2 separate regions of the Homo sapiens genome follow, and region 2 is linked to region 1. Evidence: promoter capture Hi-C in human tissues and cell types (Jung and others, 2019). All regions are on one chromosome and are shown on one strand. Each heading gives the region's core, a stretch centred on a gene start or on the middle of the fragment in contact. The rest is flanking DNA. Distances are from core to core; before and after follow the strand shown. Region 1 holds the start of ELAVL2 (ELAV like RNA binding protein 2). Region 2 overlaps LOC101929563 (a long non-coding RNA gene).

What was found. The method cuts DNA at HindIII sites, captures the fragments that hold promoters and counts their contacts. A contact is called where the count stands out against the background at its distance.
Region 2: a contact is called between a fragment that was not itself captured here and the fragment with the promoter of ELAVL2 in region 1, in 2 of the 25 tissues and cell types used here (dorsolateral prefrontal cortex and thymus).

Annotation. Positions count from the first base shown.
Region 1 is chr9:23,824,877-23,827,887 of GRCh38, reverse strand. ELAVL2 (ELAV like RNA binding protein 2) reads left to right here and starts at 1,648. Exons shown (of 7, transcript NM_004432.5): 1 at 1,648-2,082. It overlaps LOC105375992 (a long non-coding RNA gene), which reads right to left and starts at 1,460. Exons shown (of 3, transcript XR_929519.3): 1 at 1,371-1,460. The HindIII fragment of the contact is 12,029 bases long and covers 1-3,011 here.
Region 2 is chr9:23,620,683-23,623,653 of GRCh38, reverse strand. All of the region lies in intron 9 of LOC101929563 (a long non-coding RNA gene), which reads left to right. Among named protein-coding and RNA genes, the nearest start is that of ELAVL2, 200 kb to the left of the region's middle. The HindIII fragment of the contact is 5,206 bases long and covers 1-2,971 here.

The DNA of each region.
Region 1 (3,011 bases), core at 399-2,898:
TTGTCATGCAAAGTAACAGAACTCGTATATTGTTATACAGGCTACACGGGAGATAAACAGGTCTGTTTTTCACCATTAATCATTTATCAACACTCAAGGACACTCTCAAAGAACACTGATTTACTGTATTCCTCACTTCAAAGTCATTTTGCTTTGGGATCTTCTGTCCCATTCCCCTCCATGACACCCTACCCTTTTGCAATCTCTAACTCTTACCTGTGTCTTCTTTTTCCGGCATTCTCAAAGATAGCGACTAGTTGTAAATATGTAAAGGAATCCCTTTCAAAAAGGCATGTGCCTCTGGTTAAGACACATTACATGTGTAATGTAATGTGTACATTACATTTACACATTCTGGTAAGAATGGTAAAAACTGTCTAGGAAGTTGGTGCTATCTTTCAAGATTGAAAAGAGAAATGCTGGCTGGAAAAGAACGTAGGTCAAATGAATATTGTGTCTACTTATACATCCAGACGATCCTGAGGACCTCACTTTCACTTAGAGGAAGAAACAATTATCATGCATAAAACTGTATTTTGGTCTCCTGAATGCTGTTAAAATATGGGGTTGTAATAAAGTAGTCTTCCTCTATGAAGCAGAAGCATTGATAGCACTTGGTCTTCTGGTTAAACTTCTTAAATCCTCACAGAAAGAGCCCTGATAAAGGTTCAACTATCTTTGCTGTCAGCAATACATGTGTGGTCCAAGGACTGTACCTGTCTGCAAATGCAGAGGAGTGGCTTGTTCCAGTTTTATATACAGCTGCTCTTTTTGAGAATCATTAGACACCTCGAAGTGAAGGACCTTAGCTCTACTCAATACCTCTTTTTCTGGATAGGATATTTATCCTACACTTTTCTATTCTAACATGAAGTGAAAGCCAATTCAAACCGTGCAGCTTTATTTGAGAGCATTTCTGACTTCATCTTTATCTTAAAAGGATGCTTTAAAAAGGGGTTCATGGGGACACATAAATCTGAAATATGCGTATATTAAAATAAAGACATACAATTACCTAACATCTAATACAAAATACAGTACTGAACACAAATCGAAAAAAGGCATGCGGGCAAATAATGGATGTACATTCATCCCTTTCACTCAGATCAAAGAGAGGGAGCTCTCAATGACTCATACATACCGGACAGAGTTAAATGTTATAAAGAAATATGCCACAGATGCAGCAGTGATGGCAAAGGAAATGAATCTTTCTGAAGCAGAAAGATTTAAGAGGAAAGGAGATCGTGCCATATCGCAAACTCTGATAGTACAGTTCCAACCCTCCCACGTTGCTCTCTCCACATTTCTTTTTGCTTCTTGCATTTCCCTTCGCCGCCAGTGTTAAGAGTGTACCTCCCCGCACAACTTACCTTGAAACGGGACTCCATTGAGCTCTCGAGAGTGACACAAGCCCATAGCCAATCGTCTCACGCGGCCCCGCCTGGGCGGCCTCAATGGAAGCGTGTGGACCAATCAGGATCCTGGGGCGATGAGCAAGTTACGTTGTGGCGCGATTCGGCGTATACTTCCGCGCGTGCTGCCCGGGATAGGAGCCTGGCAGAGCAGCTGCACACACGGCAGTGCGGAGGCAGAGAAGGGGTTGGTGATACGGTGCTATAAATCTGTGGTCCAGTCCACCTCCCTTTTAAGACGTCCTCCCCCCTATTTCTGTTCTTAGTTAGAGATGCAGCAGCTTACTCCTGTAGCGACCTACTAAAAAGCAACAAGGAGAAAGACATCGTCTTTTTGAAAAAACGTTCTTTCGTCTCTTTTCTTTGTTCCTTGGTTTGTTTTTCTTGCCCCTTTTTGTTTAGTTGAACGGCAATAGGAGGGTAGTCTCTCCGTCTTTTTAAACTCTTTTTTAAGTTTCCCCTCCCCTTTCATATTTTTTTTCGCCATTTCTTTTAGCATTGGACTTTGGGGTCGAAAGCGTTTCTTTTTATTTGCTTCTTTTAAGCCGAGCACAGTTTAGGTTTCGTGCTGTCTTAAGAGAACTATCCAGCAGCTTCTTGCTCATCCTTATTGGGAGAACTGCACCGTTACTTTAAAAACACACATACACAAAAACCTTAAGGGAGAAAGGTAAGTTTCGGTTTGGTTTCTTTAATCATTAGTTGCAGCGATGCGCTGGCAAACCCAGAAAACCTGTAAGTGAGCGGAATACAGAATATGAAGTTAATTGCACATGTTTGTCTCATTTCAAAGCTACTGTTCTGCTTTTTTAATTTTAAAGAGCTAGACTAAAAGACGGTGGACGCATGCTTAGCGTACTGAATATTCGTAAATGTCCATGGCAGAAACTTAAGTGGTAAATGTGGCCAGGGGGGAGTAGGGGTACAATGGGAGGTTAGATGTGGAGTGAGCTTCAAGATTGAGATCGGAAGTTCATTTCGTGGGGAGAGAGTGATAACTTGGGTGTTGGGGATGCATGCCTCTACTTTGGCTCAGCAACGGAAGGACGGGAGAGGCTTTACAATCATTAAGGGGAATCAGAAGCCTGGACTGGCAGATTAGACCAGCGAAAACCACAGGCTTAATTGCATTAACCAGATAGCATGTGCTGGGGAGATGGGATTGCCAGATGGAATTTAGATGCTGCACCAGGCAGCGAGTTGTAGTTGACTGAAAAAAGTACATGCCGCCTGAGGGCTGGGGCTGGGGCTGGGCTGAGGCTAGGGTTGTTAGAAGCTGTCAGAACTCATCATTGTATGCGGGCTCTGATTCACGGACTCCAATTATCATAATTCAGTTTTAAAAGAAGATAGCCAATTTGGGGCTGAATTCTTAAGCCTGTACCGGATATGAGATTCCCTTTGTTCAGAAAAGCGTAAATAAGATCCTTGGAGCTGTGTCTATGAAGTGCCGGCTGCTTGGGAGCCTCGCTGTGCTGGGCGCTGGGAAGTGGATTCCAAGCCCTGTCCTTGGTCCTACGCGGCTGACTTCGCCTTCGGGGAGAGGGGGAACCCCTCTGCAGCCGCGAGGCTTCGCAGCCACCCCAGGAGCCAACTCGG
Region 2 (2,971 bases), core at 270-2,769, 200 kb after region 1:
GAATTATATTTGTAAGCTGAAGGAAAAAGTAGGCTTTTAAATTTATTTATTTTAGACTTTTAAATTTATAACCTGAAAAATCAAATATTAATATTTAAAACCAAAGTGCCATCAGAGTAATCTTTTCTGAGCATAAAGGTCAGTCTCAAGGACTCCAGAAACTTCAAACACAACACACACTTTTTGTATTAGACTTAGGATTGTTCTTCATTTCCACAGAGAAGTATACATTCTCTTTTGTTCTAGAATCATGCAGTGCTCTGGCTAGCAGTAGTTTTCCTTTTTCCATGTTTGCTAGACACGTTTTTGCTAGGATTTCCTGGGAAAAATCAGTGCAAGTGTAATGTATGGGAAACAAAAAGAGTGGTGGGGATTGTGGCAATCTTAATACATACTCTTTAACTGATAAGAGCTATGTGGTTATCCCAATATATTAAAACTGCTGGGAGTTTTTACCCCAGAAGTCAGAGTTTCATGTTGGTCTCAATTTTTAAAACATCTAATGGGGGATCTCGGTGGGGGAAACACCAAAATGTACATCTGAGACTGAATCAGCGAACGAGTGACTTGTTGTGGAGCTCTGGTATGTTAGAAAGTGCTCTGAACAGGGATATAGCTAGGAAGTGCACTGTCCCCTTGTCAATGCCCACCTCAGATGTAGGGCATGGCAACCTTCGGAGTGACTCTAGAATCACCTCCTACCAAAGTGTTAGTGGATAATGTAGTTTGCACTGAAGGTTTTTAAGAATAGAGGGGAGAGGAAGTTTATTGTATGTGCATATGTGTGTCTCACATTAAGAAACAAGAAACTATGAAAAATCGTCTGTTACAGATTTCTTTTCTCCAGTCTTTTCTACATAGCTATTCTTCCTAGAGCAGAATGGAGAGTAGGGGTGGTGATTTTTTTTTTTTCTTCCTCAACTTTCACACAGTACCCAGGCTCCTAGGCATCTGTCCTCTTTCCTTGATTCTCTTAGGGCACTTTAAGTTCCACACCCCTTATTAAGCAGAGCAATCCAGCTTTGTCTTCCACCTAAGCATTCTGGGCACTGGGTGGTGGTAGTGGTTGTGTGGCTGCAGCTGCTGGGGGTATATGAGTAACTTTTTTTGGTTGGATTGAAGCCTGTAACGAATGTTAGTATCTACAAGCGACACTGAAAGCCCATGTTTTCTAGTTCGCTATAGTCCACTGGCGCTTGCTTCCTTTTTGACTTTTCTTCCTGCAGCAGCAGTTGCTCTTGCTGCCCTAGACCCCTGCCATTTCAGTGCACACTGGGCTTGACCTCTGGTGCAAGCACCAGCTTCTTTCTCCTTACGTGCTTTCCGTGGCTGCTGAAACCCACTCGGCTTTCTCCCTCAACCACCACCCACTCTTCCACCCTCAGGCAGGCAGCAGGTTGGAAAGTGCTGGACAATTAAGGCCTTTTTCCCACCCCCAGCATCCCATAATGGGGAGCTGGTATATGACTATACTTCCTCTCTCAGGCGGGTTAAGTTTTGAGGCACATTTTCCATGCTGCTTCCTAGAATTCCCCAGTGAGATTAAGCGCCACTTGCCCATTGTGGTAATTTATTGACAATGAACCTTTTATTAGCTCACTTCCTTTTTCCTGTCTCATGTTTTTGCAGGAGTTGCCCCAAATCACCTCCCACTTGCATTCTAATATCCACCTCTTGATCTACTTCTGAGAGAAGTGAAACTAAAATATTTTTCAAACCAAGTGTCATTTTAATGAAATTAATTAGGCCTAGAATTTAGTTAGCCCTTAGCAATCTTATAGGAAAGCATGTATTTCCTATATAACTCAGGCACAGCACTTGCCTTACTCACTTGAAACAAAAATGTGCTTGGACAGCAGGATGGCCTTAGTTATGGTTGCCCAAGTATTAGACAAGGGAATTCTCACCAGAAATTTTGATTGAATGATTAGAATTTTAATAAATCATACTGACCCCTTTTTTCTTACGAAATCACATACCAGTCATGCCATCCCAGCTTAAGGTAGAAAATGATGTTGGTGTGGCTGAAGAGAGAGTTTACGCTTTAGGTTCTTCCCCAGTTGTCTTCATACAGTTCAAAATGTGGCTGCACTAATGGTTTTCTGCTGAACCCTGTTGGGAGGCCTCCTATACTCTTGGGGCCTAATGGATGCATGCAGAGTAGTTCATTATTCCTCCATTAAAGGTTTTCTGTCTGCCTCTAAATCACCTTAGTTGGTGACTCAACTGCTCCCAGGAAGTTTGCTTCAGGAAAGACATTTAAAATTTCTAACCACTGACCAGGGAGTGGCTTACTCACCCAAAGGATGCAATCTATTCATGCTGACATAGGCTGTCTAATGCAAACATTATAAAGTATTCATAAGCCTCCCCTTTGCCTCAAAATAGAACCCATTTCTCCGCTTGGGGAAGATATTAGAGCCTTAAATGCCTCCGAAATGAATCTGCTCCCTTCTGGTTCTAATTGTCTCTCTCTTCCTTTGAGGGTGACTCTAGGATGCTCTGCTTTTCTTAGCCATCTGTCCTTTTGCATTGCTCTCGCCTCATCTCCCTGTCTCACTTTTCCCTTCAGCCTTGTTTACAGTTCTTTTTCTGGAGGGGTGGTTGTGGAGTTGACTTCCCAGGGAAAAAAAGATTAAATATGCATGAGAAAGATAGTGTGGGCTTATGGGATCTGGAAGAAGGCACACTGAATATATAGTAAATGAAAAAATTTAAACATGTTAATTTTAATACTTTAACAAGCATTGGCATGTCTGTAGCCCCTTTCAAGATGTAAGTCTTCTTAAAGCTGGATAGCCTGTGTTACAGCTATTTTAGTCATGCATGATTTTTCCTCTCTGTCATTAAATTAGAATATGATTACCTCCCACAGACAAAATCACACCTTTGGGTACTAAGTAATATAATTTATTTCATAAATAGGATCAAAACACCTTTATTAGATGCTAGCGACTAGGGGAAAAACATC